4 separate regions of the Homo sapiens genome follow, and all the other regions are linked to region 4. The links are contacts of gene promoters, found by promoter capture Hi-C in blood cells and fetal thymus (Javierre and others, 2016). All regions are on one chromosome and are shown on one strand. Each heading gives the region's core, a stretch centred on a gene start or on the middle of the fragment in contact. The rest is flanking DNA. Distances are from core to core; before and after follow the strand shown.

Region 1 (3,253 bases), core at 151-2,650, 420 kb before region 4:
ATGTTTAATGCTAGGCTTAAGACAGATTCTTAAGCTGTTTCAGATAAACCAAGAGGCTAACAGAGCCCAGCTCACACTACCATGGCTGCCAGGCACAGGAAGATAGAACACACACTCCTTACCCAAAGGACCCAAAACCTAGCGTGAAATGATCCGTAAACAAGACAGCCTTAACATATAGAAAGGTGATATATTCTGTTGTATGTAATTAGTGAAAAAGATAATCACTATTCTACACTAGAGAAAACAAAGCTTCATATAAATAAATTTTCTAGCTACTGAAAGTAACCAATTTAGCTCCTGAGTGCCTTTATTATAATCAACAAATTTGTACAGAATATTTCAAAAATCTATTTCCTACTTTCCACAGATTGCATTTTAAGGATGCAAGCTCTGAAACCAGAGTGCCCAGTTAGCATCCCAGGTCCACCACACAAGGCAGGCCAAGTTCATCTCCATAAGCCTCAGTTTCTGCACCTACCTTAGCACACTGTTAAAAGGATTAAATGGCATAATGCACATAAAATACTTAGAACACTTAGCCTGGCAAATAGTAAGTGCTCAATATATTTTACCTATTATTAAGAAAACCTGTAGTGGTCAGGGTTTGTTAACTACCAAGTTATCTAACAAAATCCCCAATGTGCTTACCCATCCTTTCCTGGTGTAACGCAGCCCCAGGAGTGCCTCGAGAATGGACGGGCTAAGACATGAGTATGGGGTTCATTTCAGACCAATGAGACAGGAAAGGAAATCAGCTAGGGGCTTCCAGGAAAGGTCTGCTTACTCCCAAGGTGGGAAAGGAAATCAGCTAGGGGCTCCCAGGAAAGGTCTGCTTACTCCCAAGGTGGGGTAAGAGACAGACAGAGGTGGGCCATGGGCAGTGGTGTCTCCTCCTGAACCCGCATCTCTGGGCACGGCACCTGGAGGGTCTACACCCACCCTCTGCCCTATCACACCACATGTAGTTCATCCCTTTCACGGCACTTAGTGACTAACATGGTTTGGCTCTGTGTCCCCATCCAAATCTCATGTTGAATTGTAATTCCCAGCACTGAGGGAGGGACCTGGTGGGAGATAATTGGATCATGGGGGCGGATGTCCCCCTTTCTGTTCTCGTGATAATGAGTTATCATGAGATCTGATGGTTTAAAAGTGTGTGGCACTTCTCCCTTCACTGTTTCTTCTGATGCCATGTGAAGATGTGCTTGCTTCTCCTTCGCCCTTCCACCATGATTGCAAGTTTCCTGCAGCCTCCCAGGCATACTCCCTGTACAGCCTGCATAACTGTGAGTCAATTAAACCTCTTTTTCTTCATAAATTACCCAGTCTCAGGTAGCTCTTTATAGCAGTGTGAGAACGGACTAACACAGTGATTACCCAAAACAGCTCTGGTTTGTTTACTTCTGTCTTTCCTCTGCCACCACACTAGAAGAGTAAGAGGAATGTTTTTTGGGGATGTGCATTACTAACGCCCCTTACACACGTACTTGACGTCTGGGGCCATGTCTACCACGTTCATTCCCACCTGAACATAGTGGGTGTTCAGCAAATACCTGCTGAAGAAGTAATAAAATAATCTCAAGTATCTATTTGTTTTCCAAATGACATCTGCTTATTTTTAATGTGTATAACACTTTCAATTACTTTCTCCTACAATTCTCTAATTTGCATGTTAAACTTTAGATAAGACTAATTAATAGTAACATCTGCCCTATATGTTTTTTTAAAAAATAGACCCTACATCAAAAGATGTTCAAAATAAACCAAAAGGATGCTCAAATAGGTCTATTTGAAATGCTCAAATAGTCTCACTCCTCTTTGTAGCAAGATCTTCCCCACCAAAAATAACTAGAAAAAATTTTTTAACTCCCAAAGAACACGTAAGGCAGGAAAAAATACGTATTTCATGTTAGTAGTTTTTAAATAATCTATGCCGTAGGGTCAGAAAACAGACATTAGTGAGAATGAGCCCAGAATTCTAAATTCCCATGAAATATTTATTCAATTTGAAAACAATGTTACCAAGTTTACGACTTCCAGTCTTTTAGGTGAGCCAAAGTAGGAACTAGGTACTCTTGTAAGACATTATACATAAAAGCCTTCCAAAAATATGACTTTCCTATCCCTTTTCACAGTTTCGTCACCTAAAATTTAACTAAACCTTCAACAATTGGTAATAATTTAACCCATCTCTTTTTAATTACAGTTCATTCAAGTAAGTAAATATAGTATAACTGTGCAGGGAATTTTAATGTCATAGTACCTATTTGTTTTTAATTTAGAACCTGTGTTACATTTCTCTGTAATTCAATTGATTAAGAAGCCAAGTAGATGTGATATTTTGTGATATGATAAAGAAAAGTTATACTACTTCAAACCTGGAGCTTTTAACATATGAATTCAATTATAAAATAGCAATATCTCAACTAACTCCTGCAGTGGCTCTACTGTTATTTTCTACTTGGGAAAGTTAAGAGTTCAAGAAGGTCTTTGTCAAAAACTTAAGCAGGCAAGCATACAGACATGTTAACAATTCAGAATCCACCCAAGCTTAGACAAAACACTGCTTCAAGCAGCGAGCATTGCAGGACCAACATTTCAAAGAATTTTTCCTAAAAAGAAAGAGCAACAAAAAAATCAACAGGACAAAACCTCAAAAACATTACAACAATTTTTAGATAATAATACAAGTTATAGGATATTCCTTATGTGCTTAAAATTTACACTTAAACAATACATATTCTCTAACTGCACAGCCCCAAACCCATGTTTTGCAAGGGAATAAAAACTATAAAGTTATTAAGAATTGCTGGAGAAAACATCCTTAGTGGTCTTTGTGTTAGAAAGGACCTGCTTTCTTTAATTATCAACTTTTCCACTTATACCAAAATTAGATTAACTTGTAAAAAAAAAAAAAAAAAAAAAACTAAATTAGAAACATTGAGCTTACTACTTGAAAACAACATGACATTCATTTTTCACATGTGCAGCTCGACATGGATTCTGACTATAAACCATAAGAGCGTGTGTCATCCTCTGGAAAGCTTAAAAGGGCAGTATTTTCTGAATGGTTACTCCTGTAAAAAATAATCAGTTTAAGTCTTTAAAAAGAAAAATATCACCTTTTCTTATCATTTCTTCTGTATGCCCATGGCATTCTTTTACTTAACTTGTATCCCCTAAGGTTACTCCCTTTCTAGGTGGCTTAGGAACCTTAGGGACAGGGAAATCAAAATTAGCCCCCTACTGT
Region 2 (3,438 bases), core at 661-3,160, 280 kb before region 4:
AAGAACACACTAGACTCATTTTTCTGGAAAACCTCCCCCTCCATGCTCCCTTGGTTGTCTCCTAATATCCAGCTCTCTTTTCCTTTTATGCTCTGATCACTGTCCTTCCACACCCACACCGCCTCCCTCATCTTCCCTTGGTCCAGACCTCCTACTTTTCCCAAACAACCCTCCTAAAACTCCTCTTTCAAACCAGTTATGTGGGGAAACTGTAGACTTAAGCCTTGGGCCTGGGCTGAATTAAGAGGTATAATTAAAGATTTCCCTAATGCTTGTAATCTCAGCACTTAGGGAGGTTGAGGCAGGAGGATTGCTTAAGCCCGGGCGTCTGAGACCAGCCTGGGCAACACAGTGAGACCCTGTCTGTATTTTTTTTTAAGTTGAAAAAAAAATGATTTCCTTAAAGCCAAAGAAGACCAGCAAATATTTATTAGAAAAGTTTAGAATTCCTCTGGAGGCATATGACCCAGGGACCCCTGACTTTGTACACATGTTGTACACATGGGTACCTTGTACATTTGTCAACGTGTACACATGTTGGTCAGAACCTCCGATGCTAAAGGTTGGAGGGTAAAAGCTGATTGGACTGACCAGGAACGATGCCTTATAGGATTCCCCTTTCCACAATAAACCTGACAGTCAAAAAAAGGGACCTACCCAAAATGTAGGTCAAGTGCCCTAAAAGTCATACCCCAAATGTTTTCAAAACAAATCTGCTGGAGCATAATTCAATCATGCAAACAAACAAAGAAAAAAGATGACACTATAGGAGATTTCCGAGATAGACTAGAAAGCAACTTTGGATGACAGCTGAGCGTTACAGAGGTGCTGAGGGAGCAACAGCCCTTTCATCTGGCTTTGTCAATGGAATTGAACCTGAAGTTGGAGACCTAATTCAAAAACAGAAATGAGCATGGAGAATAGCCACCTGAGATGAGCAACAACACCAGGCACAGCATGTTGCAAGGGCTTTAGAACAAAAACGAGGCAAGATCCAAAGTAAACTGTGGCCCTGCAGATCAAACAGCTGGGTAGCCCACTCCCCAGTCAACCACCTATGGACAAGGACACTTTGGGATATCTTAAACTGGAAAGATCTTCCCATCTTACACACACATGCGCGTGCGCGCTCACACACACACACACACAGAGAACAGAAAAAAATGACAAAAATTCCTTGATTCATATCAATGAAGGAGTTGTGTAGAAGGACAAAGGGCATGATGTCCTGTTATGCTTAAACACTCAAGATGAATTAGCTTAACTGCAGATGGCCGTCCTCATCAGCTGCTAGTAGACACTCTTTATACATTGAACCCTGCTGCCTTTGTTCAACCTCCTCACGGTAACAACTCACAAGTCATTGGGATTTCAAGTAATCCATAGGCTTTTTGTGTCTCTCAGCCCTTAACCACAACCTTTGGGCTCTTCCTGTTCTCTGACACCAATCCTGCAAATTTAGTAGGGAGAGATCTATTCTGCAAATGGAATTGTAATATTAAATGCATACCGGGGGTGGGGGACTGTCTCCTGCGGTGTCAGAGGACCCTGCATTCATAATCGCGTTGCCTGCTCTGGCTGGCTGTGTACCTTAGCCTCTTTTGTTATATTTGAGGAACACCCAAGATAAGGATTATGGGGCAATGTAGGGTTGAGGGAAATTTGTGTTAGGATTTAATAGAACATTCTGAAATTTTTGGAGAAAAATGATAGACATAATATTCTTAATAACAGCTACAGTAGTATAGAGTATATACAGCATCCAAATGGAAATAGTTGTAAATATTTGTCAACATTAAATTTAGTTTAAAATAAAAACCTTGGGAGCTCAGTAGTCAGCTGAGAAAATGTCCTAACCTTGCATTTTGAAGGGGAGATTGACATTTCTTTTTTTTTCCATTTTGTTTATTTATGTATGTATTTGTTTTTCAATTTTACTTTTTATTTTAGATTCGGGGGCACAGGTGCAGGTTTGTTACAAGGGTATATTGTGTGATGCTGAGGTTTGGGCTTCTAATGATCCCATTGCCCGAGTAGCAGACATAGTACCCGATGAGTAGTTTTTCAGCCCATGCCCCCAGCTTCCTTCCTTTTGGAGTCCCCAGTGTCTATTTTTCCCGTCTTCATGTCCTTTTGTGGTGAAGCTAAACATTGGTTTAGCCTATAAGTGAGAACAGGCCGGGTGTGGCGGCTCATGCCTATAATCCCAGCACTTTGGGAGGCCAAGGTGGGAGGACCACTTGAGCCCAGGAGTTTGAGACTAGCCTGGGCAACATGGCAAGACACTGTCTCTACAAAATTTTTAAAAAATTACCTGGGCATGGTGGCATACACCTGTAGTCCAAGCAACTTTGGAGGCTGAGGTGGGAGGATTGCTTGATCCTGAGAGATTGAGGCTGCAGTGAGCTGTGATCACACCACTGCACCGCAGCCTGGGCTGGGCTTTTGAGACAGAGCAAGACCCTGTCTCAAAAGAAAAAAAAAAGAAGTGAGAACATGAAGTATTTGGTTTTCTGTTTCTGTGTCAATTCGCTTAGGATAATGGCCTCCAGCTGCATCCATGTTGCTTCAGGGGACGTGTTCATTCTTTTTTGTGACTTTGTAGTACTCCGTGGTGTATAAGTTTGATATTTTTTCGTTCTTATTTATTTATTTATTTATTTGAGAGGAGTCTCGCCCTGTCGCCCAGGCTGGAGTGCAGTGGTGTGATCTCGGCTTCACTGCAGGCTCCACTTCCCAGGTTCATGCCATTCTCTTGCCTCAGCCTCCCGAGTAGCTAGGATTACAGGCGCCCGCCACCACGCCCGGCTAATTTTTTTGTGTTTTTTAAAAGAGACGGGGTTTCACCCTGTTAGCCAGGATGGTCTCGATCTCCTGACCTCGTGATCCACCCGCCTCGGCCTCCCAAAGTGCTGGGATTACAGGCGTGAGCCACCGCGCCCGGCTGACATTTTCTTTATCCAATCTACTATTGATAGTCACCTGGGTTGTTTCTATGTCTTTGCTGTTGAGAACAGTGCTGTGATAAACATACAAGGGCAGGTGTCTTTTGTGATTTATTTTCCTTTGGGTGTATACCCAGTCATGGGGTTGCTGGGTTGAATGGTAATTCTATTTTTGCTTCTTTGAGAAATCTCCAAACTGTTTTCCACAGGGGCTGAACTAATTTGCATTCCCACCAGCAGTGTATAAGCATGCCCTTTTCTCTGCAGCCTCACCGGCATCTGTTATTTTTTTGACGTTTTAACCATAGCCATTCTGACTGGTGTGAGATGGTGTCTCATTGTGGTTTTGACCTGCATTTCTCTGGTGATCAGTGATGCTGAGCATTTCTTCACGTGTTTGTTGGCCGTATGTATGGAGACTGACGTTTATGTTGGATGACAATTATGGGGAAAAAACTCACCAGGACTACGTAATATAATCTTCCTTCTGTGT
Region 3 (3,429 bases), core at 546-3,045, 440 kb before region 4:
GCCCAGCAAGGACCTAGAGCCCCCAGGCTGCAAGGGGGCACAGCTGGGACTTCCCGCTTCATGGAACCGGGAGCCAGGAGCAGGCACCAGCCCTGCCCTCCCAGACACATCTGCAGCCGCCCAGGTGGGGCTGTGGACCCGGGCCTCTCTGCACTCTTGGGGGCCCTGGAAGGCCCCCGCCTTGCCCTTGCAGGCTCGGAGGTGCCTACCTCCACTGTCTGGCCTCTCCCCGCTCCAGGCACCTGCTATGATCTCCGAATGGGGTTGGGGCCAAGCCGGGGAGCTGTCACAGCCCAGCCAGGTATGTGAGGGTCCTGCCACCTCAGCTCCCTCCAGACTCTGTGTGCTGACAAGCATGGGATGTGGAACCTAGGGGGACACTGAGAGCAGCTTGATGCTGGCCTGCAGGTACCCCATGGATGAGCAGCCTGGGTACCACAGACCATGGCAGGAAGCAGACAGGCTCCGGGGTGGAAGGGGGTAGGTCCCTGGTGAGACCCCACCTTCAGGCCAGGGAGGGCATGAAGGCTGGGAGCCAGGCCACCAGTCCCACAGACCACACTGCAGGCTTATGGTGACTTTTCTGGGCCTGCCCATGACCACCCATGGACCAACTGGCACACACTTCCTCCACTCTGAGGCCCATAAAAGCCCCGGGCTCAGCTAGAGCAGGGCAGGGGATGGGGAGAAGATGAGATGACCAGATGCAGAGAGGAGCTACTCTCTCTGCTAAGAGCTGCAGAGACAATGGGACAAGCTGCCTACAGAGAGAAGCCACCCACTCTAGGGCCTCCTCTGTGCCGACAGCTGCAGACTACAGGAGCTACCCTCTCTGCTGACAGCTGAACACTTGTTGGGATGACCAGCTGCAGAGAGGAGCTACCCTCTCTGCTAGGAGCTGAACACTCATCGGGACACCCTGGCTATGGAGAGGAGCTGCCCACTGTGGGTCTTCTCTGAGCTGTTCTATTACTCAATAAAGCTCCTCTTTGCCTTGCTCACCCTCCACTTGTCTGCGTACCTCAGTCTTCCTGGTCACAAGACAAGAACTCAGGACCCACTAAATGGCAAGGCTAAAAGAGCTGTAACACACACAGGGCTGAAACATGCTCCTCACTCATCAAATTGCAGGTGAAGAGGGGAGAACAGCTGTGGTCCTTCAAGGAGCCCTGACCTGGGAGCTCCCCAAGCCAGGGCTGTGACTCCTTCTTTGGGGCCCCATGGTTCCTGGCATCTCCAAGCTTCTGGGAGCCATTGCATTCCTTGGTGCCAGCTGGGGAAGCTGTCTGCAGTGCACCTGGTCCAGCCGCAGCCTCACAGAGAGCCAGTGCCCATGCTGGCACCTAGAGCTGACAGCCCCACAGCAGCAGCCAGCATGTCTGACTGTGCAGTAGCCCAACCCCGCACTCACTCACACACGTCTTGCCAGTCCACGCCTGACTCAGTCTCCCTTGGAGGTGTGGGATCCAGGCCGGTACCATGAGCTAAGTGCAGCCTGCCAGGCCAAGTGGGAGGAACAAGCCCAGCAGGCCCAAACAAAAGTTGGACAAAGACACCACTGGCCACAGCTTTCCAACCAGAAAAATGACACCCCAAAGATCCTGTAACACTATTTCCAGAAAGTGGCAGAGAAATGTGCTAGGGCTTAACCATTGGCTCTGATAGCCCTCATCCCAGGATCCCTAAGGAGGGTTTTGGGAATTTGTGAACGTTTCAGTTGTCACAATCACTGGGGGATGCTACTGGCACTGAGTGGGTGGAAACCAGGAACACTAGAGGTCCTAAGACACCCAGGACAGTCTGCACGGCCAAAGACTTCTGCATTCCTCACAACTTCCTCAAGTCCTGCTGAATATTCACGTGGGTAAAAAACCTGTTTATAATTGTCTGAGCGTAAAACCTCACTCAAGTTATTACATAGGCACAACGTATGTGTTACAAAGTATGTGTTAAACAGGAAGACTACCATTTTATTCCAAATTTAACCAAATTTGACCATTTCAAGAAACAATGACACCAACAGCACACCACCAGTGCTTGCTGAGTCTCCACTGCCATCCACGTGCCACAGTCTGCATCTGCAGCTGCCACAGCAGGGATGCTCCCAAAGTGTGGCCTCTGAGCAGTTCCTCCACACCCTAGGCAGCAGGGTCTCCACATCTGAATACTGAGATGCAAGTTCTCCTGGCAAACAACTTGCTTTTCATTTCCTTTTTCACTGTCATAAAAAGGGTATATGGATTTTTTTAAATAACATGTGTAATTAGGATATGTTATTCACAAATTTCATTTTAGGATTGTAAAGGTGGCAAATACACATGAAATAGCCAGATGGATTCCTGGAATAGTGGAAGCTTAGTGAAAATGCTATTTTTTTTTTTTTTTTTTTTTTGAGATGGAGTCTCGCTCTGTTGCCAGGCTGGAGTGCAGTGGCGCGATCTCGGCTCACTGCAAGCTCTACCTCCCAGGTTCACGCCATTCTCCTGCCTCAGCCTCCCAAGTAGGTGGAACTACAGGCATCCACCACCACGCCCAGCTAATTTTTTGTATTTTTAGTAGAGATGGGGTTTCACCATGTTAGCCAGGATGGTCTCCATCTCCTGACCTCATGATCCACCCGCTCGGCCTCCCAAAGTGCTGGATTACAGGCGTGAGCCACCGCGTCCAGCCAAAAATGCTATTTTTTTTTAAAAAAAAAGAAGCATTATAAATATGATGTGTCTTTCTCAATTCAGCATGATGTAAGTCAAGTTAGGTAGTTCCCATGCCTCAGGAAATCCTGGCTTAATCTCAGCTCTGTCAGCAGTTTGGACTGTGTGTGTGTGTGAGGGGAGGAAAAGGCATCTATTGATTAAGGTGCTTCTGTATTCTCCATTGAGTTCTTCTTGAGTTCAAGGTTAATTTTTTAAATCACTGTAATCTTTGAATGTTCTTTAAAAGAACATTAAAGCAGAGAGAAATGGCATTATAATATTCACAATACAAAAAATTAAGACTTGTAAAGAAGAGTGAAGAAAGTTGGGGAAAATATGCTTCATGATTCTTAAAGGTCGATTCCTCATGGAATATATTTTAAACATACACACATACATATATAGTTGTTTAAACCCAATAAATAAACATTTCAGCTAAAAGTATTATAACACTAAATTATATCTTTAAGCATTTTTACCAATTTTACTTCCTTACTTTATCAATCATGTTTCACATCTCTAATTTCTTTATCATTATAACAAATTTCAATTTTTATATCAAGATACCAATATAAATAAAAGACAATTAAGGTTAAAAAGTGCTACACGCACACACTTTTTGGTTATTTTATTTCCTAAACATGGAAGAGGGGAAAACACAAACAATTTCTTCCACACGTGTCACACACAGTAAACATTCTTTCAAATCACGTCAGTTTCCTTGACAAAAATTAAT
Region 4 (3,528 bases), core at 857-3,356:
GGCTTAGCCTCACAGCCAAACTGAGATCCAGACCCCAGAGAAGCCGCGTGAATCAACAGCAACTCTGCAGCCCCCGACCCCAGCCCTGGCGTCCCACTCACTGAGGCTCTGGCCAGGTGGCGGTGACTCAAACCTTCTCCATTTTAACTTGGCATCTCAGAGCTTCTGGACAGAGTCCACAAATACATGAGACAAAAATAGGCCAGCATACCCTCCCTTGCCAGGCCCTCATTGTTGAGGGATGAGATGAGGGCTGGGCAAGCGGTTACACAGCCGAAACCAGGGCCCTAGAACCCAGCTCTGCCAGCATGGGCGCCCCACAGCTCTGCCCACAGCGTCTGCTCTTTATTCTTGGTTTCTCCTCTCCTTCTCTTCCACTTCCCATTCTTTGTGATCCATCTTTTTCCAAAAGTTGACAGGTTGGCTGGAGACAATTCCCCCTGCCAGCTTTTCTGTCTTTTCCACCTTTAGTTTAAGTTGTCCATGAGGGCTGGTGATCCATTTTCGGTCCTCCATACCTTCCTGGGCAATCCCTCTGGGCCCTCACACCTCCACGCCCTCCACCCTCCCAGCTCCTTCCTCCCGGGGCCTCGAGCTTTTCCCTTTTTTCATCCTCTGTGCACTGTTTCACCCCGACATGTATGTTATTGTTTGACTGTGGCATCAGCCATTCTTGGAGACTTTTCCCAGGGCTTGCAATTTTGTAGCAGAGAGAGATTTTCTATCTAAAGCAAAATGCTGGTCTTGTTTAAATAAATAATAAGATAAAAGAATCAGGCACTGTAGGGGTATTTGGCCCACAGCCATCCTGTCTCAGCAGGGTCCTTTTCATTGAGGGAAGCATTTTTCATATCCATAATTTGCCCCTTTCTCTAACCCAGGGTGCACGCTGCCGTGGCCCTTGGTGACAATGTCCCCTGTGGCCTTCCTCCAAAGCTTGCTCCAGCAAGCTCTGACATGGTGTCCTCCCTCCCCTTCTGGGCTGCGGCTTCTCCAACCTCCCCCAGCTCCTGCAGACAGAGGAGAAACAGCAAGTCACAAGATAAGACAAAGACCCTCTAGGCCAGGCCACTCCTCGCTGCCACTCTGGGACAGCAAGGCAAAACGCAGACGGCCCCAGCTCTGGACGCCTCTCCTCCTCTGGACCCTAACCCTAACCCTAAGCCACTGGAACACTCACGGGAGAAAGCTGGACCTGCTTTGAGGCTCACCTCCCTGCATGCACATCCATCCGGCTTCTCTCAAGAAGCAACCTGGTGTCTGAGAGCCGTTGAGTCTTCATCCCAGCTCTGGTATTTCTCTCATGTGGCCACATAACCTTGAATGTCTGACCTTCAATTTCTTCATCTGTACAGTGGTGAAGATGATCCCCACTTTGCTAGGTTGTTGTGAGCATTACCTAAAAGAAAATAGGTGCTATGGCGGCATGTTTGTTGAGCTAGGAGGACTCGGAACAAAATTAGCTTCTGCACCGGCTGTGCTGGAGCCAGGCAGGCCGCTCCGGTGTGGCCCTGTTTTTCCTGGTTTGTGTCCCAGGAACCTGCCAACCCTCATTGTCCCGGATTTTCCCTTTGACTCCAAAAGCCGTGTCTTTCTTATCAAGCCTCTTTATTTTTGTTATTATCCCGTCAACATACTCCCCTCTGATTCGCCCCCACTAATGACTCGCGCCCTTTCCAAAGTCCCAGCACACCGCGCTTATAATCTCTTTCAGCTGTCCTTAAAAAGGTTCTATTTGTCCCCTCCGCCCCGCTCAGGGGCGCCCGGACTCTGGGGCCCGGCCTTCGCGGGCTCCCGGGTTCCTCCCATCGCTTCCCTCACAGTCCTGGCCGCAGGGCAGCGGGTTTCGCACGGGAGGGAAGGTTTGGATGGCTAACGCCCAGGGTTGGTCTTCCCTGTGTCTTTTATGGGAACACGTTCCTGCCTGCGCCCCACGGGACAGAGCCGTTTTCCCGCCCCGCCACGCCGCGCCCGCAGGCCCCGCTGCCCGCAGCCTCTTCCCGACGCCCCAGGCCGTGCGCCCCCCCGAACCGGGCCCACCGCGTGCTGTGCGGGGCTTCCGCGCCTGCGCACGAACGCTTCTGCGAGCTTTCTCGGAAGCAGCTGGGGGGCGGGGAATCTGCTGAGGAACGGCGCTTTATAAATCAAAAGATAATAATAACAGAGCTTACGGTGAGCACCGGAGGCTGGAAACGGGGTGGCATCCGCTCGGGGCGGGGCGGCGTCGCCAGCGAATGACAACACTGCCCCCTGGTGGCCGATGCGGCCAGGCCCGAGAGAGCGCAGGCCGGGTGCGAGCCAGGCTTCCTCACCACGCGGCTTCCCCACTCATCCCATAGAAACCGTAACTGAGCAAATGACGGTAAGTCCCCAGGAAGCGTTAAGGCCAGGAAGCAGCACAGGAGAAAAACCCGAATCCCATTTTTTTAGAGTAGGGATTTATTTGTTGTCCCCAGATAGCAAGCTGAATTTCTGAATAGTTCAGAGCTCACAAAAGAAGCCAAGACCTTTCAGGGCATTTTATAATGTTGCTTTTTATAAACAAAATATTGAAACCACTACTATCACTGTCACTGGGGGATTACTGTTGAGCAGAAATGCTTGTGAAACTCCCAAAAGAAAGGGTCGTTTGTGCTTCTTTGGCATTAAGTAAAAATGTCCTGTTTGGTGTGTACACGTTTTCATATTTAATTATTCACACTGTGCACTTTATATATAAACTCAGCACTTAGGTTCTCTGTGAGCCAGAAACCTGGCTTCTGTGCTCATCCATAGACCCAGTGAGAGTGTAGAAGCCAAGCCTGGTGGAGCCTGTGTCTACCAGGGCATTGCAGTAAAGCTTCTACCACTCACTGTAAATACCTCCCATCGAGGCTGAGGAAAAGTTGTAGCATACTTGGAAATTGGGGTGGAGTATTGTCATCCAAAAAGGCATATTTCTTTTGGTGTTTTCCATACCCGGCTGTGTCATTGTGAAGCCTCAGCTCTCCCAATCTCCCCATAAACTGGAGGAATCCTAGTGTTTCCTGTCCTGCCACATTATGTGTGGGGAAGATTTTTTTTTTTTTTTTTGAGACAGAGTTTCACTCTTGTTACCCAGGCTGGAGTGCAATGGCGCGACCTTGGCTCACTGCAACCTCTGCTTCCTGGGTTCAAGCGATTCTTCTGCCTCAGCCTCTGGAGTACGGAGCTGGGATTACAGGCACCCGCCACCATGCCCGACTATTTTTTGTATTTTTTAGTAGAGACCGGGTTTCACCATGTTGGCCAGGCTGGTCTCAAACTCCTGACCTCAGGTGATCCACCCGCCTCGGCCTCCCAAAATGCAGAAAGAGTCTTAAGATGGATTTTTAGTAAGTACTTCAAGCGGCTTTATGAAAGCTACCGTCAGTAAAGTAGAAAACTATATATGCACATATTTAGATATGGAGCTCCCACGGAGGAAGTGCTCTGACAGGTCAAATCTGCCCCCAAAATAAGTTGATAGAACTTCAAGGAAGCATGAAAGCGGCCTTGCTGTGCATTTCA

Evidence for each region. The method cuts DNA at HindIII sites, captures the fragments that hold promoters and counts their contacts. A CHiCAGO score of 5 or more calls a contact.
Region 1: a contact is called between a fragment that was not itself captured here and the fragment with the promoter of LINC02521 in region 4, in 8 of 17 cell types (naive CD4 T cells, naive CD8 T cells, naive B cells and 5 more). The highest score is 6.8, in naive CD4 T cells.
Region 2: a contact is called between a fragment that was not itself captured here and the fragment with the promoter of LINC02521 in region 4, in 2 of 17 cell types (endothelial precursors and megakaryocytes). The highest score is 5.6, in endothelial precursors.
Region 3: a contact is called between a fragment that was not itself captured here and the fragment with the promoter of LINC02521 in region 4, in 7 of 17 cell types (naive CD8 T cells, total CD8 T cells, naive CD4 T cells and 4 more). The highest score is 7.5, in naive CD8 T cells.

What each region holds. Positions count from the first base shown.
Region 1 is chr6:2,209,801-2,213,053 of GRCh38, forward strand. The region is part of intron 1 of GMDS (GDP-mannose 4,6-dehydratase); the gene reads right to left. Among named protein-coding and RNA genes, the nearest start is that of GMDS, 34 kb to the right of the region's middle. The HindIII fragment of the contact is 2,301 bases long and covers 251-2,551 here.
Region 2 is chr6:2,347,606-2,351,043 of GRCh38, forward strand. The region is part of intron 4 of GMDS-DT (GMDS divergent transcript); the gene reads left to right. Among named protein-coding and RNA genes, the nearest start is that of GMDS-DT, 100 kb to the left of the region's middle. The HindIII fragment of the contact is 5,231 bases long and covers 1-3,438 here.
Region 3 is chr6:2,191,351-2,194,779 of GRCh38, forward strand. The region is part of intron 1 of GMDS (GDP-mannose 4,6-dehydratase); the gene reads right to left. Among named protein-coding and RNA genes, the nearest start is that of GMDS, 53 kb to the right of the region's middle. The HindIII fragment of the contact is 1,113 bases long and covers 1,240-2,352 here.
Region 4 is chr6:2,632,394-2,635,921 of GRCh38, forward strand. LINC02521 (long intergenic non-protein coding RNA 2521) reads left to right here and starts at 2,107. Exons shown (of 3, transcript NR_149119.1): 1 at 2,107-2,362. It overlaps LINC01600 (long intergenic non-protein coding RNA 1600), which reads right to left and starts at 2,210. Exons shown (of 3, transcript NR_131168.1): 1 at 2,172-2,210; 2 at 1,212-1,399. The HindIII fragment of the contact is 1,903 bases long and covers 935-2,837 here.